Linked DNA regions of Homo sapiens: all the other regions are linked to region 3. Evidence: promoter capture Hi-C in 16 types of primary human blood cells and fetal thymus (Javierre and others, 2016). All regions are on one chromosome and are shown on one strand. Each heading gives the region's core, a stretch centred on a gene start or on the middle of the fragment in contact. The rest is flanking DNA. Distances are from core to core; before and after follow the strand shown. Region 1 holds the start of PPM1K (protein phosphatase, Mg2+/Mn2+ dependent 1K). Region 2 overlaps DAPP1 (dual adaptor of phosphotyrosine and 3-phosphoinositides 1). Region 3 holds the start of SMARCAD1 (SNF2 related chromatin remodeling ATPase with DExD box 1). Region 4 overlaps MTTP (microsomal triglyceride transfer protein). Region 5 overlaps DAPP1 (dual adaptor of phosphotyrosine and 3-phosphoinositides 1). Region 6 overlaps H2AZ1-DT (H2AZ1 divergent transcript). Region 7 overlaps DNAJB14 (DnaJ heat shock protein family (Hsp40) member B14).

The links. The method cuts DNA at HindIII sites, captures the fragments that hold promoters and counts their contacts. A CHiCAGO score of 5 or more calls a contact.
Region 1: the fragment with the promoter of PPM1K here is called in contact with the fragment with the promoter of SMARCAD1 in region 3 in 2 of 17 cell types (monocytes and total B cells); the score reaches 6.0 in monocytes.
Region 2: a contact is called between a fragment that was not itself captured here and the fragment with the promoter of SMARCAD1 in region 3, in 1 of 17 cell types (total B cells). The highest score is 6.1, in total B cells.
Region 4: a fragment that was not itself captured here is called in contact with the fragment with the promoter of SMARCAD1 in region 3 in 1 of 17 cell types (total B cells); the score reaches 6.0 in total B cells.
Region 5: a fragment that was not itself captured here is called in contact with the fragment with the promoter of SMARCAD1 in region 3 in 1 of 17 cell types (total CD4 T cells); the score reaches 5.5 in total CD4 T cells.
Region 6: a contact is called between a fragment that was not itself captured here and the fragment with the promoter of SMARCAD1 in region 3, in 2 of 17 cell types (non-activated CD4 T cells and total CD4 T cells). The highest score is 6.1, in non-activated CD4 T cells.
Region 7: a fragment that was not itself captured here is called in contact with the fragment with the promoter of SMARCAD1 in region 3 in 1 of 17 cell types (total CD4 T cells); the score reaches 5.5 in total CD4 T cells.

What each region holds. Positions count from the first base shown.
Region 1 is chr4:88,283,140-88,286,669 of GRCh38, forward strand. PPM1K (protein phosphatase, Mg2+/Mn2+ dependent 1K) reads right to left here and starts at 1,422. Exons shown (of 7, transcript NM_152542.5): 1 at 1,267-1,422. It overlaps PPM1K-DT (PPM1K divergent transcript), which reads left to right and starts at 1,791. Exons shown (of 5, transcript NR_134238.1): 1 at 1,791-1,922. RefSeq lists enhancers at 1,205-1,264, 1,305-1,394, 1,307-1,830 and a silencer at 1,565-1,784. The HindIII fragment of the contact is 7,670 bases long and covers 1-3,530 here.
Region 2 is chr4:99,856,830-99,860,071 of GRCh38, forward strand. The region is part of intron 4 of DAPP1 (dual adaptor of phosphotyrosine and 3-phosphoinositides 1); the gene reads left to right. Among named protein-coding and RNA genes, the nearest start is that of LAMTOR3, 36 kb to the right of the region's middle. The HindIII fragment of the contact is 590 bases long and covers 1,320-1,909 here.
Region 3 is chr4:94,206,203-94,209,859 of GRCh38, forward strand. It overlaps SMARCAD1 (SNF2 related chromatin remodeling ATPase with DExD box 1), which reads left to right and starts at 1,663. Exons shown (of 24, transcript NM_020159.5): 1 at 1,663-1,868; 2 at 2,144-2,382. The coding sequence starts at 2,193. It overlaps SMARCAD1-DT (SMARCAD1 divergent transcript), which reads right to left and starts at 1,354. Exons shown (of 9, transcript NR_125922.1): 1 at 1,328-1,354. RefSeq lists enhancers at 1,282-1,641, 1,740-2,243. The HindIII fragment of the contact is 2,630 bases long and covers 1,104-3,657 here.
Region 4 is chr4:99,575,529-99,579,243 of GRCh38, forward strand. All of the region lies in intron 1 of MTTP (microsomal triglyceride transfer protein), which reads left to right. Among named protein-coding and RNA genes, the nearest start is that of MTTP, 2.6 kb to the left of the region's middle. The HindIII fragment of the contact is 154 bases long and covers 1,320-1,473 here.
Region 5 is chr4:99,818,020-99,821,397 of GRCh38, forward strand. The region is part of intron 1 of DAPP1 (dual adaptor of phosphotyrosine and 3-phosphoinositides 1); the gene reads left to right. Among named protein-coding and RNA genes, the nearest start is that of DAPP1, 2.9 kb to the left of the region's middle. The HindIII fragment of the contact is 5,274 bases long and covers 1-3,378 here.
Region 6 is chr4:99,950,804-99,954,203 of GRCh38, forward strand. All of the region lies in intron 1 of H2AZ1-DT (H2AZ1 divergent transcript), which reads left to right. Among named protein-coding and RNA genes, the nearest start is that of H2AZ1-DT, 2.0 kb to the left of the region's middle. RefSeq lists a silencer at 1-62. The HindIII fragment of the contact is 441 bases long and covers 1,271-1,711 here.
Region 7 is chr4:99,905,417-99,909,105 of GRCh38, forward strand. It overlaps DNAJB14 (DnaJ heat shock protein family (Hsp40) member B14), which reads right to left. Exons shown (of 8, transcript NM_001031723.4): 4 at 3,295-3,480; 5 at 1,101-1,195; 6 at 181-290. Among named protein-coding and RNA genes, the nearest start is that of LAMTOR3, 13 kb to the left of the region's middle. The HindIII fragment of the contact is 9,420 bases long and covers 1-3,689 here.

The DNA.
Region 1 (3,530 bases), core at 172-2,671, 5.9 Mb before region 3:
GGTCTTGCTCTGTCGCCCAGGCTGGAGTGCAGTGGTGCGATCTCGGCTCACTGCAGCCTCGACCACTCAGGATCAAGAGATCCTCCCACCTCAGCCTCCGGGGCTGGGACCACAGGCACATGCCACCACGCCCGGGTAATTTTTGTATGTTTTGTAGAGCCGAGGTTTCGATGTGTTGCCCAGGCTGGTCTCGAACTCCTGGGCTCAAGCCCGCTTTGGCCTTCCAAAGTGCTGTGATCACAGGCGTGAGCCATTGCTACCGGTCTCATTGCTCTTTTTCATCGTCATTGTAATCTGTCACTTTAGTCGCTCATTCTGAAACCGAAGGACAGCCTCATTCCTCCGCCCTGACGGAAAGAACCGATGAGGCCTTGCTGCACGTTAGCAGTGGGAGGCTCAGAAAAGCCCGTGGAGCTTTTGAGACTGCAAATTCCCTGGCTATTTCCACCTGGAGCCTCTTTGTCACATCCGGTGAATTCCCTCATCTACAGAAAGCGGCTGCTGAAAAAGACATCACCAGCTACAACGCCTTGAGTACTACAGCGCTCCCTGCGCAAAGTAAAACCCAAGTCTTCGGATCAAAACCAGCCGGGGCTGTGCATCCTTCACGATGCCGGACCTCCTGAAAAGCTCACCTGGGTACAGCTCAGGATCCTGGCCTCGGCTCGCTGGCCCTGACAGGCGGGTGGTCAGGGTGACACACGGTGGGAAGAACACACGCCCGCCTGCCTGCGAAGCCTCGCAAATAGCTGGGCTCCCTCGGCACCTTCTGCCGCCAGGTCTCCGCCTCCCAACCTCCCTCTGGGCGTACCGAGCCCGTTGTCGCCACGTTTCCCTCGCCCGGGAGGCAACGCGGCACCCACCCCGCAGCATCCTCGCTTCCGGGGCCTCGGGCAAGGGTCTCCAGTCCCAGCCCACCCACCCTGCCCGCCTCGCGCCGCGCTGGCCCTCCAGCCTGCGGCCACATTCAAGGCCGAGCGCAGTCTGGGCTGGAAACCCGCCGCCCGGGGCGCAGGCAGCCCAGCTGGGCCCCGCCTCACCCCGACGAGCTGCTCACGACCTCCAAAGGGAAGAAAGCGACGCTCTGAGAACTCCGAGAGGCCGCCGGCCAAGCGCCGACTCGGGGGGCGGGGGAACGGAAACCGACGTCTCCCCTTCGACCTCCCGGGAAACCCTTCTCCGTTTACTCTCCATTCCGCGACCGCCAATAAAGAACAGCATACATGGTTAGCAGAAATAAATGAATTGCACTCTCTAGGCTCTTACCTCTGGATGGCTACGTCCCTGAAAAATGTTTTAATTAGCTAACGGAGGACGGGGGAGGAGCTTTCTTGGTCGGTAAATAAGAGTGCCTTCTCCGTCGTCTCGGATCTCCGAAGCAAGCAGTCAAAGCGGCCACTGCCTTGCCTGCTGGAAATTCTCGAAAATTTTTCTCCCGCAGTTGACCAGATGGAGAGGGAGAAGTCTGTTCCCGCTGACTGACAGCAGATCCGGCCAGTCCGCACTCGGCGAGACGGCTGGCCGGCCGCCCGGGCCCTCGATCGCAGCCAGTCACAGATGCCGATGGGAACGAGCCTCCCCGCGGCTGCTATTTGACTTCGCAGGCTTCCAGCTGCGCGGCGGAGCGACGTCACCCTGTGCCAGTGGTGGCTCGCGGCGGCGCCCCGCCCTCCCGAGGTTAGCTCCCCAGCCAAAGAGGGGGCGCGCTTGCGCGGTGGGTGGGGCCGCGAGACTTGGTACCTAGCCAGCGGGCGGAGCGCGGAGGGGGTTTCGCTTCGGGCTAAGGGACTGTAGTTGTGACAGCCAGGAAACCGAGAACGGAATGCCAATACTGCTTAGGCTTAGAGTTTGAAAGGCATCTGATTTCACTGCCATGTCTTTGAACAGCAGTGCACAGTGCAGTCTTCTTCGTGGCTGAACAGGTATCTTGTGATCTTTAGGGAATGTCTATTAATTCATTAAACAAGTATTTCTGTGTTTATTGAAGGACGTCTTGTATGCTATACATTTGCTAGGCACTGGGGATACGCCCCTAACACAGCTAGACACGATAGCTGCCCTCATAGAATTTTCAGTCTAACAAAGAAGAGGGAGAAAACCAACAAGTAAGCAAGCACATAGAATAGTAATTAATCATGTCAAGGAAAGAAATAGGCATGGTGTGGACACTGGAGGATAACTTCAGATAAGATTGTTATATGAGAACTTTATAAGATGGCATTTAAACCATCAGTCATTCAGCCATGGAACCAATAAAATGATGAATTGTTTTGGGCAGAGGGGACAGCAGACAAAGGTCTCTCGGTGAGACAGCCCGGCGTTTTGGAAGAACAGAAAGAAAGCCAAAGTGTCTCCAGCATATTGAGGGAGGGAAAGAACAGCATGATGTGAGAGAGATGAGGCAGACAGGGGCTTGGAGTTGGCATTACATTTTAAATTTAATGGGCTTCTATTGAGGCATTCGAAAAAAAGAAGTGAAAGGGTCTGGGTTTAGACTTTACATCACTTTGGTTAGTGTGCAAAGAACAGTTAAAATAAGCTATTGGGAAACTGATTAGGAGATGATGACAGATGAAATTTAAGGTGGAAGATGACTTTGATTAAACTATGACAATATCACTGAAGGGAGAGAAGAGCAGAGAGATTAGAGATTTTAAAGATAAATAATTAACTTGATTTGGCATTTTAGTTATTCTAGGCCAGGGACAACTGTTTTGAATCCAGTGCATTTAATAACCAGGTTAGAGAGTGACTCTCATATTGACGGCTCACAAATTATAGTAATAACCTTGAGTAATATTATGTTGAGTTGATGTCTTTTCATAGACTTCCTGGATTTTTTTTTCTTTTGTCTTTCTTTCTTTTTTTTTTTTTTTTTTTTTTTTTTTTGAGACAGGGTTTTACTCCTGCCCAGGCTGGAGTGCAGTGGCGCTATCTGAGCTCACTGAAACCTCTGCTTCCCAGGCTCAAGTGATCCTCCCACTTCAGCCTCCCAAGTAGCTGTGACTACAGGCACGCTCAACCATACACAGCTAATGTTTATATTTTTTGTAGAGATGGGGCTTCCCCATGTTGCCCAGGCTGGTCTTGAACTCCTGAACTCAAGCAATCCACCCACCTCAGCCTCCCAAAGTGCTGGGATTACAGGCATGAGCCACTGTACCTGGCGTGGAATTTAAAAAAATAATAATTTTATTGAAACATGTGTCTTAAAAAGTGCACATATCCTAAGTGTAGACAGCTCAATGAATTTTCACAGTCTGCAGACACCTTTGTATCCAGCACCCAGATCAAGGAACAAAACATTATTAATACCTGGGAACCCCATCAACCTGCCTTCCAGGCACTGCCTTCTTCCAAGGGGAGTTTCTATGCTGACTTTCAACAGCATAGGTAGTTTTGCCTATCTTTATACTTGTTATATATAAAGCCATAAAGTATGTGTTCTTTTGTTTCTGGCTACTTGGACTCAACATTACACTTGTGAGATTCTTCCATATTGTTGTATGCAGTTGTAGATCATTCATTTT
Region 2 (3,242 bases), core at 365-2,864, 5.7 Mb after region 3:
CCAAAGGGCAATATTGAAAGGGCCAGGTGATATCCACAATGGGTTGCCCTACAGGAGAGGAACCCTGAGCCTTGGGAACCCAAATCTTTTCTAATGATCAGTAGACATGTCTTTTGTTCTGAAGGGAAATATTTCTTTATTCCAAGGCTGCTTGTATAAGCATACTTTAAATATCAGTCTGCAGCAAAGAACTGTTAATGCCTTGCTCATAAGACATTTGGAACCTTGACAAGAGACCCGTGGAGATTATTTCCCAACAGTGATCAGGGGCTAACTATTCTTCAAAGAGTGGTAGAGAATTATCTTGCCCAAAATCTCAGTAGTACCTTTTGTACATAACATGAGAATTCTTTACCTTCTGAGCTTGTTTAAAAAAATTCTTGCAGATGGATTGAATGTGATACACGAAAGAAAGAGTAGCAGAGTCATGGCAGAGAAGCCCTGCTATTTACTGAGAAGGCTAACTCTGCAGGAGGGGTGGGTTGAGGGGATGAGAAAGAAGAGCTCTATTTTGGACATGTTAAATGAGAAATACCAATTAGTTGTCTTGGTAGAGATTGAGATTAATATAGTTCAAGTTCCTGACATAATAGGTCCTATCTAAAATGTTAGTTTCCTTAGCTTCCCTTTTGTGGTATTTGACGTTTTTAACAACTCCCTCCTTCTAAAAATTCTGTTTCCTTAGCTTTGGCAACATCTTTCTGTCTTTATTCCGTAATCTTTGACACATTTTATAGTTCCTCTTCTTGGATACTTTCCTTGCACGTTGCCCTTTTCCAGTATTTTGTTTTTGAAACTCTTCTCAGGTTTAACATTTTGTTGCTTATCCTTTCAGTCTTTTACTTGAAAAAAAAAAGTATATGTATGTATATACACACACACACACACACACACACACACACACACATAAAATAATGAGCTCTTCATTGTAGAGTTGTAATATTCTTGTTTAATTAACTATATATTTAAAATTTTTTTCATGTAATTACTTAGTTTTCTGGAACACCATTAAACAAATTCCATAATATTCCATTATTTGAGTATATCAATTTATTCAGTTAATCCACTATTATGTTTTAACATGCTTTTTTATTTGAAATAATGTCAAAGTTACAGAATAATTGCTAGAATAGTACACAGAACTTGGTTTTCCCCAAGTCGTTTGATAGTAAATTGCCTACATGATGCCCCATCACCCTGAATATTTCAGTGTGTATTTCCAAAAATAAGGGCATTTGCCTGCGTGACCAGATAGAGCCTTCCAAACTAGAAAATTAACATTGAGGCTGTGCCACTGTTTCATCCACAGATCTCATTCAAGCTTCACTAGTTTTCTCAGTAAGTTCCGTCAGAGTAAAAGATCCAGTCCTCAAGCACAAGTTGCACTTATCTGTCCTGTCTCTGGAAGATTCTTCACTTTGGAACACTTCCTCAGTTTTTCCTTAATTTCGTGACTTTGACACATCTGAAATTAAAGACCAGTTATTTTGTAAATAGTTTCCCAACTTTGGTTTATATGATATTGAATCATGATTAGATACAGGTTTTTTCATGTTGGCTACAAATACCACAAAAGTGATGCTTTGTTTGTGCTTCTCACTGTGTCTTCTCAGATGGAACACAATTGCAATCTGTCTCATAATGGTGTGTTTGATTACTTAAGTGGTGTCTGCCAGGTTTCTTCACTCTAAAGTCACCATATTCCCTTTGTTATTAAAAAATGTTTGGGGTGAGGTTATTTGAGACTATAAGAATATTCTGTTACTTATTAAATTTTTACTTGCCAATTTTAGCATTTACTGATGTGTCTTGGCTGTTTTAATCATTACTATGATTGTTACCAAACGATGACTCTCTGATTTTCTTATTCCTTTTTACATTCATTGGTTGTCATTCTACTGTAAGGAAAAGCTTTTTATTCTTCAAAATTTTCAATCATTTTTATATCAAATGGTTATAATCATGACTATCATTATTTATTTTGATCCTTCAAAATTTCCCTGATTTGGCCAGTCGGGGAAAGAGCCCTTTCAAGTGGTGTCTGTGTTCATATGACCTCAAAAAAAATTTTTTTTTTTTGGAGACAGTGTGTCACTCCGTCACTCTGTCTCCCAAGCTGGAGTGCAGTGGTGTGATCACGGCTCATGAAGCCTCGACCTCCTGGGTTCAGGTGACTCTCCCTCCTCAGCCTCCTGAGTAGCAGGGACTACAGGTGTGTACCACCACTCCTGGCTAATATTTGTATTTTCATTTTTTTATTTTTTTTTGTAGAGTCAAGGTTTCACCATTTTAACCAGGCTGGTATCGAACTCCTGGGTGCAAGCAATGCTCATGCTTCAGCCTCCCAAAGTGCTGGGATTATAGTTGTGAGCCTCCGTGCCTGGCCTGGCCTCAAAATTCTTTTAAGAACTTTCTTACTTTCTGAATAGCAAGATGATCCAGACTTATCTTGTTCTTTCTTTGTACCCAGCTCTAGAACCAGCTATTTCTCCAAGAAACTCTGCTCTTTTTCCACAGAATAGTACTCTAGAAATCGACATCTAGGTACTATGTGCTTATTGTTATCAGGATGTCACTCTCCCAGCCCACTCAGTGAGCAGAGCTGGGAAAATATGTATGTATATACATATGTACACATATATACTTTTACATCTGTATTTATCTGTCGATTCATTCATCGATCCATGAGTTCACAACAATGCTTCCAATACCACAAAGTTCATTCTAGTGTTTTCCCTTCTCCCACAGTGAGAAAATATGGATCTTATCATCCTCAGTACACTTATGTGGTGATCAATTGAATATAAGCAATCTCCCATTGCTGTTTCTACTACTCAACCCTTACCCCGACACTCCAACCACCCAGTCATGCTTCAATGCTCAGTTCCAGGCCACTGCTGCTCCCACCCTCACTACAGATGTCCACCTAGCCCAACTTGGCTCTGAAACTGTGCAGTAGCTGCCACCTCCACCCCTTCAGGCAGAAGCCCTCCACACCCTGCCAGGCTTCAATGCCTCGCACACAGCTGCTGCTGCCACTGTCACTGCCAGTGTCCACACAGAGGCTCCCTGTGCCCTACTTGGGCTCCACCACCCTGTACTAAGGTGCTTGAAAGCCCTCCACACACACATCAATGCCTGCCTTGCTTCACCTGAACTGTGTTGGCTACTGACTTCATTTAAGGCTGGCAGGCAAGTAGGTAGTAGGATGGCAGGAAGGACAGTCCTTTGTTTTTGAACAT
Region 3 (3,657 bases), core at 413-2,912:
CAGCACTATTCACAACAGCCAAGATTTGGAAGCAACTTAAGTGTCCATTAACAGGTGAATGAATAAGAAAAATGTGGTGCATATACACAGTGGAGTATTATTTCGCCATTAAAAAAAATGAGATCCTGTCATTTGCAACATGGATGGAACTGGAGGTCATTATATTAAAGGAAATAAGGCAGGCACAGAAAAAAAACTTGGTATGTTCTCATTTATTATATTTGTGGGAGCTAAAAAATTAAAACAATTGAACGTATGAGAAACGGTAGAACGATGGCTACCAGAGGCTGGGAAGGGTAGTGTGGGGCGGGGGAGGACCCCGGTGGTCGGTGAGCATGGTTAATGGGTACGAAAATACAGTTTGAATGAATAAGATCTAGTATTTGATAGCACAATAGCATGACTACAGTCAACAACAATTTATTGTACTTTTTTTTTTGAGACAAGAGTCTTGCTTTGTTGCCCAGGGTGGAGTGCAGTGGAGTGATCTCGGCTAACTGCAACCTCCGCATCCCAGGTTCAAGCTATTCTCCTGCCTCAGCCTCCCGATTAGCTGAGATTACAGGCGCCCGCCACTACGCCCGGCTAATTTTTTGTATATTTAGCAGAGACGGAGTTTCACCATGTTGGCTAGGCTGGTCTCAAACTCCTGACCTTGTGATTCACCTGCCTCAGCCCCCCAAAGTGCTGGGATTACAGGCGTGAGCCACCACTCCCAGCTTATTGTACATTTTTAAATGACTAAAATAACTGGATTGTTTGAAACACAAAGGATAAATGCTTGTTATGGATACCCCACTTACCCTGATATGATTATTACACATTGCATGCCTGTATCAAAATATCTCATGTACCCTATAAATATGTACACCTACTATGTACCCGCAAACATTAAAAATTAAAATATTTTTAAAAAATTAATTAATTAATCAAATTCCATTCTAAGAACAATCAAGCCGAAAGTGAGGAATTACTTTAAATGCTTTGAAGCTCAGCATCCCGGGGTTCTTATCCGTCACTAATTACCTATACATTTGCAGGTCTCAGTTTCTTTGCTTTGTAAACATAGGCTTCTTGTAAGGATTGGGATTATACACTGAAAAAGCTTAGCACAGTATTATTACTATTATGCTATCTACATTATATTATAGGTGAAACACTACAGATTATAATACATACAATATATACTAATTGTATTATATATTGTTATTTTTTGTCATTATGCTATTTACTATTGTTCTATTTAATAACTCTCTAGATAATTTAACAGGACAAAGGTACAGAACAATCTGGCCCTTACAAGCCGGCGGAGACGGGTACGAATTACCATGACAACAGCGCGCGCCTCGACATTGTCGGCTCGCGCGTTGTTTGGGAAGAAAAAGCCTAGGCTGCGTGTTGCGTCATCATTACGCGCTCTTAAGGTTTCTCCGTGGTGTTTTGGAAGGTCCCGGCACGGCTACCGTCGCCCCACGCTAGGAAATTTTTTTTTTATTTTCAACCTTTGTTACATAGCACTGAGGCTACAAGATCGTAAGTACTGAGGGAAGAAAGAACAAGCGAGCGATTGAACGTTAAAAAGATGCCTTAGCATGCACTCCACCTCTGAACCTTCCTGTGTGTTCTTAATCCTATCAGCTTCCTCTCAGCTGGGATCGCGCCGCGTCAACTTCCGGGCGGATGCCCGCCAGCACGGCCTCCGCCGCTCCCCTTCTTTGGCCCCTTTGTGTCCCCGCAGTGTCGAGGCGCGGGCCCTGGCAGGTCCTTTCTCGAGGCAGGGGGCACGGTAGCACAGGGAGCTTCTCTTTGTGGGCGGGCGCGAGGCCCGCTAGGGGGTTATACTGGGGAACGTGCCTGCGCGTGCTTGGGTAAGAGGAGGTTGCATGAGGGTCAGCTCGTGGTTTCAGTAAGGAGGGGCGGGCGGGGGAGGCGGACGAAGGGGAGTGAAAAGCAATGGAAAATTTTAAAAGATACCCCCGTCCACCTTCTAATTGTTGCGGCCTAACAATGAAGCGCAGCCATAACAGTCCTGAGCCACTGGCATGTTTGCGGGCCCTTTATTGCCTTGGGAATAAACTGCTGTGGCATTGTATCGTATATTGTTTTCATGGCCTTTTTTCCTCTCTTTATTTTTCCCCTGCAGATAGTTCATTTAAAGCCCCCATCCCTGCAAGGTGGTGCTTTCTACCAATATGAATCTTTTCAACCTGGACCGTTTTCGCTTTGAGAAAAGGAATAAGATTGAGGAAGCGCCCGAAGCAACCCCTCAACCTTCCCAGCCTGGCCCTTCTTCACCAATTTCTCTTAGTGCTGAAGAGGAGAATGCTGAAGGGGAAGTTAGCAGGGCAAACACTCCTGATTCAGATATAACTGAAAAAACAGGTGAGTTACAATGTTAAAATTGATGTAACATCAAGGACAGTTTTTAAAAGATGAAAGGCAGAAGGGATTCTCATTTTTATTCTTGATGTCATATATATTGATGCATTGTCCTGCGGTGTGCCCTTTTAAATACAGCTTTGGGACTGCCATAAGCACCATGTACCCTCAACTGAGCATCCATCCATTGTCGCCTCACTTTTATATGAGTTCTTCGAATATGGCCCCATGGTGGAAGTTGAAATTAGAATTTAGGGCATCCATAGGTCAGAACGGTTGCTATTGGAAGAGCGATGTCAGTGATTCAGTCCTATGATAAACTTTGAGGCTATTTGGGCAGACATTTTCATTCATTCCAGTATTCCCTCAAAATATTGATCATCTACTGTGAGCTAGACATTGAGCAAGGTGCCTAAAGACAACCTCTGTACACAAGGGAAGATCAGATCACATCAAGTTCTTGCATCCACCTGACTTCCTGGATGTCCTCAGAATGCAAATGAGTAATTGGTATTCTTCATGGTGAATGAACATTTTTAACCTCATCAGCAGATTGTCAGAGACAAAAGTATTTGAGGATAAGCCAAAAATTAAGATTTCCACTCGAATCTATGTTCATTGAACAGTTAACTATTAGAGGAATATATTTGAGCTCTTGTTGTATTATAGGAATAGTGATAAGTGCTTCACCTTCTGTCATTTAATTTGCACAATAATCCTACAAGGTAGATATTACTGACATAGAGGTTAATGTGAAATGAGATTCAGAGAGGTTATTAGGAACTTGGTAGAGCCTGAACTCAAGTCCTGGCAGTATGATTCCTGAGCATAAACTAATTAGTTAGTTTCTTAGGAAAGGTGAAAGGAATGTTGGAAGTTATATTTTAATATTTATTTCAGTAATATCTTTTTTTATGCAAAACTCTGTTTCGTAAACAGCTTTTAACTTAATGTAGCCTGAAAGATTGGTAACACACATGTTTATCCTTGGTATCTTTTTGTTTGCCACCCTTCTACTTAAATGTAATAATGATGGCAGATCCTCTGCAAGTTATCATTAGAATAACATTTTTAAATACTTTGGTGTAATTGGAAATTGGCAGAATGATTTGGTAGATTGGATTAGGAGTCAGATTTACAAAGGCTTTGTCTAAGTAGTTTTGAATTTAAATGCTATAGGGAACAACTGAAGGATTTTAAGCACCAGGATTTTAATCCCTGTGTTCACTCTTTGAATAGATATTTGACATCCAGGTATTTTAATGCTTTTCCAATGAA
Region 4 (3,715 bases), core at 147-2,646, 5.4 Mb after region 3:
TCCTGATACAGATTTAAGAAATAAGACATTATCTTTGGAAAAATAATGTTGCTACTTACAGTTTCTATTTTAAGATGAAATTAATTTTAAAAATACATATGAATTAATACCATTGAAAAGGCAAGTGAAAAAACATTTTATGAGGAATGGTTTCATAAAACTGTTGTGAAGTGTATTAATATAGAATCATGTTTCAGATCAGCTACATTATAAACATCGGTTTTCCAAATGCTGCATTGTGTAAAATGATCACTTTTTAGTTTCTTAGGAAGACACACTGTTAAAAACCAATTGATATAACAACATAGCGTTATAGGGACCAATTTTAAAACCATGTACTCTAAGTAATTGATAGAAAACAATTCACTTATAAACTTATAAAACCTGTTAGGGATAAATGTGGCTTTTGATATTAAAGTAAAGTTTGCCTCAGGATTTTTTGTGTAGAAAATTTCCACATGAGGAAAAAAACCTAATCTTCATTATTGGAGCAATAGAGGGTTAAATTTAAACCAATTCACCTCAGCAAATCACACTGTAGGTTCTTGAACTAAAGAAAATATTTTCACCAATTTCTAAATATTTACTATTTAAACATACAGTTCTTACTTGGACAAAAGAAATTTTTTAATGAGAAGAAGATTTATAAATTATATCTGACTGAGAGTGTTATATAGAGGACTTACTATTTCATCTGCCAAATAAACTGTTGAGTAGTCAAAATATGTGTGATTTAAATACCATAGTATCAAACCTAATACCATAAGTATTTTGAGAAAAATAATTGAGACATGGTACTTATCATGAGCTTCTCCTGTTTTCCCATTTTATAAACTAGAACATTGGGTGACCTCATGTTTTCAAATATACTTATAAAAAATTTAAGGCCGGGCGTGGTGGCTCACGCCTGTAATCCCAGCACTTTGGGAGGCCGAGGCGGGCGGATCACGAGGTCAGGAGATCGAGACCATCCCGGCTAAAACGGTGAAACCCCGTCTCTACTAAAAATACAAAAAATTAGCCGGGCGTAGTGGCGGGCGCCTGTAGTCCCAGCTACTTGGGAGGCTGCGGCAGGAGAATGGCGTGAACCCGGGAGGCGGAGCTTGCAGTGAGCCGAGATCCCGCCACTGCACTCCAGCCTGGGCGACAGAGCGAGACTCCGTCTCAAAAAAAAAAAAAAAAAAAAAAAATTTAAATATACACATACACTAGACAATGGCATAATTGGGAAATGGCATAAATGAGAAAATGTGGTTTAGAATATTATAGGTAGCTACAGTTTATTGTAAACAAGCTTAGTAGTAAATCTAGATTTTTAAAGCTTGAAACATATATAATTTAGGGGCCACTTTTGAGAAAAGATTACAAAAATATCTTACTATTGCAAAGGTTACTGAAAAAGATATGGCATGTGGATACATTGCTAGGGTCCACTTCTGGAGTCTTTGGAAGGATCCTGGGCAAGAGAGCTTAAGCTTCATCAGCATCATGGTACGTTGCTTATGCTGATATCATAAATTAAAAGTGTACAACTTGAGAGCTTCTTTACCTAGATGGAATAACTTTTTGCATTATGGTACCATGATTTAATTATAGATTCTTTGCCCTTGTAACAACTGACATTAATTAGCAAACAACTTGTGAAGAGTTTACCTTAAAATCAGTCCATTTAAAATTTGGGGATCCCATGCCTCATTGCCTCAAAACTCATCTCTAAATTACCAATGCAACTGTTTGGTAAATCCTCAGATCTGGGTGGATGTTGAAGGGCAGGTTAGAATCTAAAGAAAATTGAGGCTGGGTGTGGTGGCTCATGCCTGTAATCCCAGCGCTTTGGGAGGCCAAGGTGGGTAGATCACTTGAGGTTGGGAGTTCGAGACCAGTCTGACCAACGTGGAGAAACCCCATCTCTGCTAAAAACACAAAATTAGCCAGGCATGGTAGCGCATGCCTGTAATCCCAGCTACTCAGGAGGCTGAGGCAGGAGAATTGCGTGAAACTGGGAGGTGGAGGTTGCAGTGAGCTGAGATCACACCATTGCACTCCAGCCTGGGCAATAAGAGCGAAACTCTGTTTCAAAAAAAAAAAAAAAAAGAAAGAAAAGAAAGAAAGGAAGGAAGAAAAGAAAAAGGAAAATTGAATGGCAGATTGGAATCTGAAGAGGGTATTAGGATTAGGATAAAAGAGCACATCTATATGATTTGCTGTGTGAACTTTCTAAAGACTCAAGTTTTCCCTACTTTTTCTTAATTATACTTTGTCATGGTTGGACTATTTTCAGCGCCTTCTCTGTGTTTTCCTTATATAGTATTTTTACCTTCTATTTAATTTTGTCACCTTTAAACCTGTACACTTCCTTCATTTCCAGTCTTTCTCTCAATCCCTCACCCCACCCTTACTTTTTAGTCAATTTTTATTAATCATCTTCCAGTTCTTTTTTCTTCTTACCCTTCATCTTCTTTTTTAACTTCTGACCCTTTAGTTTTCTGTTGGGTTCATAAATGCCATTACCTATCACCCTTATCATCACTGCATGTCTCTTCAAACCTCACCAATAACTCAGCTCTGCTTTGTCTTCTTGACTAAGCCAGTTATCAGTGATTGTACTCATATAAATCTGACAAAGGAGTATTTAAAAAATATTTCTTGAAGATTCAAAACTAACAGTTTTGTTGCTTTTAAGTCACTTAAAAATTCTAAATGCACTTGAAGGGCAAATGAAAGAGATTCTGACTTTTTTGGCTAATATTACTTTCTGTTTTGGTTTTATCTAACAACAGTTATCAAAAAATATTACTATACATACTCTGAAGAGCACTATCCTACAAAAGGAATTAAGTCAACAATATAAATGGGACATGCCCCAATGCCCAGTGTTGCCAGATCTCTGCAAAGCATAAACAGAGAAATACTTATCAAAAAGGAAAGTATAAGAGGATGACACTCTAGCACAGTCCACCTTATTTGAACCGTTTTAGGCTTTATCTCCTGTTGAAAGAGGTAGGAAACAGTTTGGAGGAATAAAGGGCCCATTCTTTTCTGTGCTTTAACATTTCCTACTCATAGTCAAAAATTGATTTATTATATGGCCAGTAAAGTAGAGGTAAGAAAAGAAGTGAATAACATAATAGTTTGGAAAGCTTTGGAATTTAAGAAAGGTTACCTTCCTACAAATGTTTCGTAGTTATTTTAACCAGAGGACACCTTAATATAGTCCACAGAACTTGGATTTTGGTAAATTTAAACATCAAATCTGCATTATATTTGCTATGTTGGGTTGAACTTGGGGTCAGCTTCTATCTGCTGTCACACAATGCTTACTTTTCAGAATTGCTCTGAGGATTAGATAAGACAACATGTATTTCCTTTATGCCCTATGTGGAATTTGATAGGTGTCATAAAAAGAAGGCCTCCTGACCGAAATATTTTTCCTGACCAGAAAGCCAGTATTTGAACCCGCTATAGAGTCCCCAATTACAATGCAGAAGACATAGAGATAAGAGGGAATCCCAGTCTTCATCCCCTTCAAGGTTTTTCCTGACTCTCTTTGCCTTCTGTGTCTCACACCTCAGTTTCTGCCTGACTTGGTGCTTGGACACAGCTTGGTTTTGTGTATACACATAGATCCTTTCATACTTCCTTCTCCTGGCTCTTCTTGATTCCTATGAAAATGCTTGTCCCTTTTCTTTGAAGGTTCGACAGATTATGTGACTTC
Region 5 (3,378 bases), core at 800-3,299, 5.6 Mb after region 3:
AAAACCAAAATAGAGTTGAAATCTCTCTGTGTTAAGGCTGCAGAGATTGTATCTTTTTATGTTGTATTACTGTAAAAGTTTATTAATAATTCCTGTCTTTAGATTATAAAACTGAGGTCTCGGAATTGAACTCTACTTTCATTTGGCAAATCAGATAAAACACCTGGAATTTTCATTAAAGAAAACTCCCCTTATTAGGAAGCCAGAGCTCTAGAATCTCTCTATCCCTCTAGATTGAATCCCCAAACAGAAGAGGTAAAAGGCCCTTCTGTGAGCATCCAGCACAGGTGTCACCAAGTCCAAAAGCTAAAGCTGAACTGTGGCCCTCAGTGTCTTATTGAACTATTAAGTTACAATGCTTTACATGTTCTGTTAACTGTATTCCCAGCCCACTGTAATAGAAAACCCCAAAGGAGGAGATAGAGGAATATATTCAATTCTGGTCCTTTAGTTAAACAAACAATCCTAGAACCCAGAGTCTATGGTTGAGTACTGTGGGAACACACTTAGATGACAAAGATGAATTAGATGCTGTCTCTGTGCCCCACCATGATGTCAACAGCAAGAAGCAACTACAGGTGAAACCCACGGGTGGAATAGGACTGTGTCTTTCCTCCATGTGCAAAGAATAGACATTGAATACAAAACTGAGTCACACCACTTCCCTGCAAAAAAAAAAGGGTACATTCATGGCCAGATTTCCCTATTTCAGAAGGCGTGAACAATTAATAAACATGAGGATGATTTCTATAGCAATGGGCAACCTGCAGTTATCTGGGAAAACTGCTCTACAGTCCTGGTTCTTGACCTTGGCTGTGCTCTGGAACATCTTGACACCCAAACCACAGACTTGACAAATGATTTCAGTATCTCTGGGGATGGGTGTTTTCTTGTCAAACTCTCCAAGTAATTCCAAAGTGAGACCCTAGGTTGATGATCACTGCATAGAATATGTATCTACCAAATGCATTAGGTAAATGTGGTCTTGTTTTTCATTTTAAGTCTGTTGGGTGTGTACTTGAATCTTAAAATTACTAATAAATGTTGATATTTTGTTTGTTGGTTTAGGGGCATTTCGATTAGCAACTTTATTGAGGTTATTTTACATATCATAAAATATACCCGTTTCAAGTGTACAATTCAATACTTTTGACTAACTTTACAGAGTGATACAACCATCACCATAAATCAGTTTTAGGACATTTCTGTTCTCCCAAAAAGAACCCTCAGATGTATGGCTTATTTAAGCATACTCAACAGTGTGCTGGAAAAACAGCTGGGAAGAGTTGGGGTGTGGAGAAAGCCCTGATTTCAAGAATTTGCCTAATTCCCTGGTATAAATACTCCCACTATAGACAATTTCAAGCTGCCAACAATTTAACATCATCGAATTGAATATTTAATAATCAACTTGTGCCAGTACTTGCTCCTGCAGCACCTCACTGATACATTTTTTATAGATAACAATTTGAGAACTCTTGACAATGACTTGTTGCCTCTGCCAGAATACTGAACATAACTCGAACATTATAATGACTTTTTCTTTGAACCTTTAACCACTGGCGAGATAGAATCTCTACCAAACCTTCTGATTAATTTAGTTTCCAAAGACCTCCTTAAAAACAAAATGATTTAATGTAATGGATAGATAAAAGGTAGCTGGTTTTAATGACTTAATTTTTCAATTATTTTTAAGAGGTTATTTGAGTAGTTAGATAAATCCTTACGTTTATGTTTTTGATAGACATAAACAGATAAGTTAGTGGTTAAATTACAGAAATAGCAGAAGTCTTTGTTCTTGGGCCTCTGTTTTTTTCAGGCTCTGGAATATGTAAATCCTGTAAATTGAGCCCTGAACTGCAGCAAATCCATCACTTGCCTTTCCAGGACATATACAACTTGCTCAGAGTACAGGTTTATTATTTTCTAAAATACCTAAATCAAGCAACACAGTGCTTTTCCATGTCTCATTTATAGAGTGTCAGCCTAAAATCATTAATTTTCTTTCATCTAAAATACATTAATGTGTCCAGAAGCAAAGGAGAAATAAAACCATCTTAAATTGTTGCTCAGCTTCGCTTACACTTCTCAGGGGAGGGTATGGGCTTAGGGGGAAGAGAGGTGTGGGGAGGGCAAGAAGTGAGGGTGTGGAGAATCAGGGGAGAGGAAGGAGGTGGACCATGAACGAGGAGATGGGTCAGGCTGTTTGCTGCTTGCAAAATGAAAATATGGCAAAATAAAACAAGTAACAAATACTGGAGATATCACCTAAGTAACAAACTGGTAAAGAATAGCTAGTTAAATTACTGAAAATTCCAGCAATTCTTTGGCTTTAACAAAGGTTACTATACTATTTCTACATATAGCTATATATATGTATAAACACAAAAGAAATAACAAAATGAAAGTGTTTTAGCATACTTTAAAATTAAATATTCAAATGATCTAGTCAGTTGTAACTCCAAGTGAGAAACATAATAAACGTTCTCTTTTTTAAATACTTTCTCAAATCGAAAGTTGTATAAGAAAGTGCCAGTGTTTGGCTGGATTGGCCAGTGCCAAAGAACTAGATTCCAAGCTCTGAATATTTAAATAAATTGATAACTAATTAGTCACATATAAGAGAAGTTTAGAGTAGACCATGGAGCAGCAAACCTTTTTTTTATAAAGGGCCGGGTAACGAATGTTTTAGGCTTTGCAGGCCTTACAGTCTCTACCTCAACTACTCACATCTGCTGTTGTGCAAAAACTACCAGAGAACACAGAAACAAATGACCGTGATGGTGTTCAAACAAAACGTTATTTATACACTGAAATGTGAATTTCATATAATTTTTATGAATATTTTTCTATTTCCCTCAAGCATTTCAAAATGTACAGCCATTCTTGGCTCCCAGTCCATACTAAAACAGGTGTCTGACAGGAATTAACCCTCAGCTGGTGGTTTGCTGACCCACGGAATAAATGATAATAAACAAAATGAGTCCGTATTATAAGGCAGGCATTTTGTAGACACCAGCTCTGGTCTTTGAAAGGCACTGGTATTCCAGCTTTACACAGGAAGAGACTCAAGAGCAGAAAAATCAGGTTGCCTACAGTCTCTGAGTGTCTGTGTTCAAAACCCATGCTGACTTCACAAACCAGGTTGTTTCCCTGCTGTGATAGTCCTAATTTACTGACCACCTACTATGCATCAGCACCATACCATTCACACGCATAATGCCATTTAGGCTTCACAATAACACTTTCAATACGATATCACCATACTCATTTCATAGACGCAAAAGGTGACTTCAATAAGCTAAGTATACGATCCAGGTCACAGACTTTGTAAGTAGTGGAGCTGAGAGACACACCTAGGAACTTACCCCAGAGCTT
Region 6 (3,400 bases), core at 241-2,740, 5.7 Mb after region 3:
CGGCTCCTCCCGTCTGACAGGTGGCGCGAACGCGTCCAGTGAGAGGAGTCTGAGGTTTGCCCTGACGCCTTCCACAGCCTTAGTAGAGATTCCGTGTTTCTTCCGTCTAGGCGAGTCCCCAGCCACCAACAGATCACGACCCGCTGCTCCCACTTTATTTTCAGCCGGGTCTTCCACCTCTCCCTCACTACTTATGAAATCCTCCACGGAATAGTTCTGTGACAGCAAACGGTGAAGCCAAGTCACCTCACTGGTCACGAAACCCTTTTTGTCTATACTTAGGGAGCTTCTGGCGAGGCAGTATTCTTTAATCAAATCATAAACCATATTTTTTGGAGACTACACATCAATGGGTTGTACCTGTAGCCTGGTGTGTAAAGCTCATTTAGTGAAACCTCAGAGCTATTATGTGTCAACTTTTCTACAGTAAGTATTTTGCCACATGACAAATGTTCGGCAAATGTCGATGGAGTAACTCTGACATGATTTTCAGGCAGTTAGAGGGTCCATGCAATGCAATCAGTTGCAAATGATGAGGTTAAAGTAATGGTACTGTACACACAGTACTATCCTTCCAACTAGTAGGTTATTAACACCTATGTACATCTCCAGCTGCTTGGGGACAGTAGTGTCTCAATCTCATTTGCAGTGTTTTAGTGTATTACATTTTTTAACATAATTGAATAGTTTCAATGTGACGAACATTTTGAAACATATACTCTATGCTGGGCATGGTGGCTCACACCTGTAATCCCAGCACTTTGGGAGGCCGAAGCGGGCAGATTACGAGGTCAGGAGTTCAAGACCAGCCTGGCCAACATGGTGACACCCCATCTCTACTAAAAATACAAAAATTAGCCAGGCATGGTGGCGCCCGCCTGTAATCCCAGCTACTCTGGAGGCTGAGGCAGGAGAATTGCTTGAACCCGGGAGGCGGCGGTTGTGGTGAGTCAAGATTGCGCCACTGCACTCAGCCTGGGGAACAGAGCGAGACTTTCTCAACAACAACAACAACAAACATATACTCTGAAGTACTTTAGATTGGGTTTCAATTTGAAAGATTTTATCGAATTAGAGGACCTCCCAATTTCTGTGAGATAAATTCTAGAGAAGAGCTTCCCAACAATTTTGACATTGAGGTTTATTATTTCTTGGAACCAAGGAACTCTTATGATGTCGTCGATAGCAAGACTTCAGCCGTTTTCCTACTGATAATATAATAATGATATATTAAGCTATGAAACCTGATAGTTAACGATGGCTCCAGGGAAGCTTTGTGATATATAAAAAACCAACATTAATGCCATCTCTAGTTTAGATAATACTCTGCCAGCTCTTTGCTATGAAGCCCCATAAAGGGAATTTACTGTTGCCTCGCTGAATAGTGGTTAGGAGGATGAACTCAGAAGCAAGTACAGATGGATTCTGTTCTGCCTCCTCCTCACTGTGTCATCTTAGTTACTAATCTTTCTGAGCTTCGAGTTCCTATTCTGTGAAAAGATAGTATCATCTATTTTCACATGGTTGAAAGATTAAGGAAAAAGGTATGCAATGTACATAGTAGCATGTGTTTGGCACGTAGTTAGCCCTCAGTAAATAACTGCTATTATTTTCTACATTGGATGCTGGAGAGGGATGAAATAAAGTATCTTTTATTTCTAAATCTTTTTTGCTATTTGGTTTATTTTCTTTCTTCGATTTGGAAGCAGCAAGCTTGAAACCTGCCCAAAGTATACACAACCAAGTCTTCCAACATCCAAACTAAAATCCAAAATTGGTTTAATAACTCAATAATTTTCCTTCAGAGAACAGGACAGTATTACTTTCTGCACTTTTCTCAGAGTGGTATGATGATTTCCTACTCTTTTTCCTGCCCCCCCCAGAAAAGGTATGATGCAAATATGTTAATATTGTTGGTTTATCTTTCCAGTTCCTGTGTTAATAGTAATGCATGTATATAATGTACTTAGCCAGAGCTATGTAATTACTTTTGTTTAATGCCATACCCAATTAGTTCTCTCACCATAAAAAAATATGAGATGCCAAGGCAAGAGGATCACTTCAGCCCAGGTGTTAAAGACCAGGCTGGGCAACATAGCGAGACCCCATCTCTACTAAAAATACAAAAATTAGCAAGGCATGGTGGCCCCTGCCTGTGGTCCCATCTACTCGGGAGGCTGAGGTGGAAGGACCACTTGAGCCCATGGTTGCAGTGAGCCATGATTGTGCCACTGAATTCCAGCCTGTGTGATAAACTGAGATCCTGTCTCGAAAAAACAACAAAAAATCCTCAGATGAGGTAGGCGAACCCACTATTATTGACACTTTCCTTAATAGCCTTTTCCTAACTAAGCCAGATTTTCCATGACTAGTTGCTATCTCCTTTGAAACACTAGCATGTATGTTAACTACTATTGTTCTTGTCTTTTTATGTAGAGAATTTGAGAGTCTTACAATTGGGAATTATAAATTTCTCAACTACATCTTGCCTTAAAAACGTATTTTTAAGAAAATATGAATAAGTTCTCAAGTTATTTCCAAGGATATTAGCCTAGATCGATAATGGCGGCAAAATTCTTTTCATCAGGAAATCTACATTAGAATCTTGGTTCTCTCTACCTAGGGCACCTAGGAAAAATATGTGCCTTCAAGGATTCACACAGCTGTGAATAACTGAGTTCCAGTGTGGTATTATGCAAAATATTGAACTAGAGTAAAAGAATGAGGGTTGAGTTTGGGTAGCCACTTACTTGCTATATGGCCTGAAGTATGTAAAACACTGAGGCACAGTTTCATTTATTAAATAGGGATTCGTAACACCAGATAAACCAACTTGATAGAATTGTGAAAGAGTTTCGTTAAGTGCGAAGAATATGTAGAGTGATGTAATAATATTTTTGGCACCGAGGCCATAGTCCTTCCTGAATTCTGTTTAGGTTGAGAAGCCTATGTGTTTAATTCAGTGTTGATAAAACCAAAGCCATCGATTTAAATTCCAAATTGCCCAGCTTTGCACTTCTCATGATCACAGATTGCACACAGGTAACAATTCACAAATGCAGGGAATAGATGACAAAGATCAGCAGAATCTACTCCACCCAGATCCACTGCCATTTCAGGAAAACAAAAGATCATGCTTTTAATATAGCACTAATTTACTTTTTCCATACATTAGTCCTCAGAATTTTTGGAAATTTATTGTTTTAAAATTAAAAAATCAAGATTCTTATCATATCCTTTTATTATCTATTATTGATATCAATATCGATCTTTAGGATTTTCAGGGCAGGGGAAGGGAGTCCATGTGTTGAAATTTTTTTCCTAAATAATAGTGTATTTGCCTAGGCAGTGGGTCCTCCTTCTCTGTATTCCTGTGTTCTACATCTATGGATTCAACCAA
Region 7 (3,689 bases), core at 499-2,998, 5.7 Mb after region 3:
TAAGACAAATTTATTACTTAAAGTAACTATTTTAAAAAATTAGATAGAAATTTAAAATCTGGTACACTTGCAGTAATAGATTTGGCACTTAAAAGTTTAAAAGAGCACAAGCTCTTTAAAGGAAGCTAGGTCAGAAATAGCAACAATTCATTTTTTGTAAAACTTCACTTGGCTACTTACGATCTGGGATATAAGGAATAAGGAGGATTAGAGACCATCAACTGGCTTAATAATGACACGAGGATCAATACAATTATGGGCATCAGCTGGATAAACACAGAAAAACCTCCCTATAAAAAATGATCAAAGAATAACAAATTGTAATATAACTGTAGTTGTTAATAATACAACAGTTGTCATACATTTTGAGGCAGAAAGCGCATTTGAGATCATCTAGTTCAGTGCTTTCAAATCTGCGTAACCATGCCAATAGGATGATTCTTAAATATAATTATCCAGGCATATCACCAGGAGATTCTGATTTGAAAAACACTGATAAAATTTGATTTCATTTTATAGATGAGGAAGTCTTCATTTCTTTCTCTTTCTCTTTCCCGACTCCCTCCCCCCCACACACAGAGACGCTATCAATATGCTGCAGGCTGTAAAACCATTTTTTACCTTGGATTTGAGGGTAGAAGATGGGAGCTGATGAGTGGCAAAGCTGGGGGCCAGGCCTTTTAATTTCTAGTCTAGTGCTCTTTCCATTTACCTTTCCACTTCATGTAATTAAATTGCTATAGGCAATTAGGTATAACTGCATTAGAACAAGGAAAGTTACCTCCAATTCAAGTTTTTCAGTACTCTAAATTCTTCAGGGCCAACAATAACAAGTTACCTTCACAACATGCATAGTGCAGGTGTACCTTCATTAGAATCATAGAATAACAAATCTAAAGGGGTCATACTATCCAACCACCCCTGGCTGACCTCTCTTCCTATTCCTACAATGTCCCTAAGGATTTTCTAGTCTCTACCAAACACCTCTAGTAAGAGAAAACTCATTATTTCCTACAACTACTTGCCCTCTTTTCAGACAACTCTAATTACTTTTCCTGAGCTGAAATTTGCCATTTTGTGATTTCTAGTCATAAACGTACATCTCCTCTTTCCTCTTCTCTTTCATGTCCACTATGTCGATGCTGATGTTGTTGGCTATAACCAGCTCTTCCATTTGAAAAAGAATGTACACTACCTAAAAAATTAAAAGCAAGGTTAAATTAGGGAGAGCAATTATGATCAGAAAAAATACATTTTCTTTCACATTTTTCTTTAATTTTAAAAAATTACTAAAATAATGCATGTGTATTTTCAGTAGTAAATACTTATTGCCCTCTCCTCTTGTAAGTGAAGGGTGGACAGAAATAGGAATGATTCTTCCCAATCTGCTTCCGTTACAGGTAGAAGTTCCTTCTTTATGAAAACTTGACTAAGAGTTTCTCTACACACATAGAGGTTTTTATAAACCTCTTTTGTTTATGATTAGTTGTGATTAGTTGTTTTTATAAATGTTGGATTATTACTTTGAAACTTTGCTTTTTGCATTTATCAATGAATCATAAACATCTCTAGAAATCAAAAGATAGTGTTCAAATTCATTTTTAAAAAATAGCCCTATAATATATCTTGGTATAGATGGACCAGAATTTATTCAAACACTCTCTTGCTGATAAACATTCAAGTTGTTTTCATATAAGATGACCAATCAGAAATGGCTACCATTGACAAACTATGTTATAACTAGCAAAATAACTGCAAATCAAGTATCAGAAGAAAATTTACTACTGCCTGAAAGATTTCTGATTGTTCCTAGTATACTTCCAGTCAAAATTACTAGTTTTAATAATTTTTCTGTAATTATGTATTCTAACATGTCAAAACACAGGTTATATTTTCAGTCATTAATTTGCATTTATATATCCTCTTTCCTTCAAGGATGCTTTGCAAAACGTCCTATCAATGACCACAACCTTGCCAGGCATGGTGGCTCACCTCTGTAATCCCAGCACAGGATTTGGGAGGCTAAGGTGGGAGGATTGCTTGAGGCTGGGAGTTCAAGACCAGCCTGGACAACATAGCAAGACCCTGTCTCTACAAAAAAGTTTTAAAAAAATTAGCCAGACATGTGGTACATGTCAGTAGTACCAGCAACTTGGGAGGCTGAGATGGGAGGATTGGTAGAGCCTAGGATTTTGAGGCTGCACTGAGCTATGATTGCCCCAGTGTACTCCAGCCTGGGCAACAGAGCAAGACCCTGTCTCTATTAAAAAATAGAAAGAAATGACCACAACCTTTCTCAATAATATTCAGAGAGGGCCACCAGGTCCAATTATACTGCTACATTCATGAAGATTCTCTTAATGTTGAATGGGATTTACTTCAGCACCTGAAGTAAATTTTGTAAACAAGACTAAAGCTATAATTTTAAGTACCTTAGAGGAGCTACATTCAAGGAAAATAGATTTCCACAATAACAACTCACAGTACAGTAAGTCCTCACTTAACGTCATCAAGAGGTCCTTGGAAACTGCAACTTCAAGTAAACATGATGTACTATATGCCTTAGCAATTTAACTGTTGTTTATATCAATTAGCCTGCGGTAAAATTAGTTGTTATACAGAACATTGTTTCACTTACAGTCACAGTTTCCAAAAACCTTATGTTAAGTGACCACTTACTGTAAATGTAAGTGGAGTTTGATACTATTTATGTTGGTACTATAAAATCTTAGTATCACTACAATATTTCACTTTGATAGTCTAGTTAAAGTTAGCTATTTCTATTTTAATGTAAACTTAAAAATCCACTTACTTTGTATATAACCTATGAATCAGATTTTCTACTGTTTAAATGGAAATAGAGATGAGTACCTCTACATATATCCAAATTAGCCAACTATAATGTTATTGATAAAATATTTACAAAGATCTCTAGGGAAGCAATGTCAAATAGTTATCCAGGTTTAAGTAAAGAAAACCATTCATAATTATAATAGTACTTACCTAAGACATTGCCATTACATTTCCTGCTTACATTCCCTTTCAGCTTTATATAAAATACAGAATATCTGTACTCTTCATTTTTTTAAATTAAAATATGTTCTAGGAAAAAGGCAGGCTATTATAAAAGTAATAACCCTAATATTTTTCTCCTGCTTTCATGAAAAACCATTACAGGATCGTAACACTACAAGAAATGTAGGGGAAAAGGTAGATACATCTCTAAATAACGTTAACTGGAGGTAAGACTATGTAGCTTCATAAAATATAATATCTATAATTACATTAAAATACCTGAAGGAAATCCACCCCCAAAAAATATATTAAACAAGTCTTCTGGAGTTATATCAGCTTCACAACCTCTATGGAAATTAAATCTGCCATTGTTTTGGTGGTTACATGCTTGTTCTTCATTGCCCGTGAGGTCATACTGTTTTCGCTTTTCTGGATTACTTAAAACAGCATAAGCATTTCCAATCTCTGAAAAAGTAATGAGTAAAAGTTGGTAAGCAAAGTTTTTATATTATAAAAGGCTGCCCCACATAAAAACTAACATCATGCTGAAAAAAAGACTACCTAAAACTATCCAGAAAATTGTTAAAAATAAGTTCTTTTAAAGATATACATTGTTTGCAATTACATATATTATCTCTCAACACAACTTTTTATACCAGACAAGTCTCTCTACT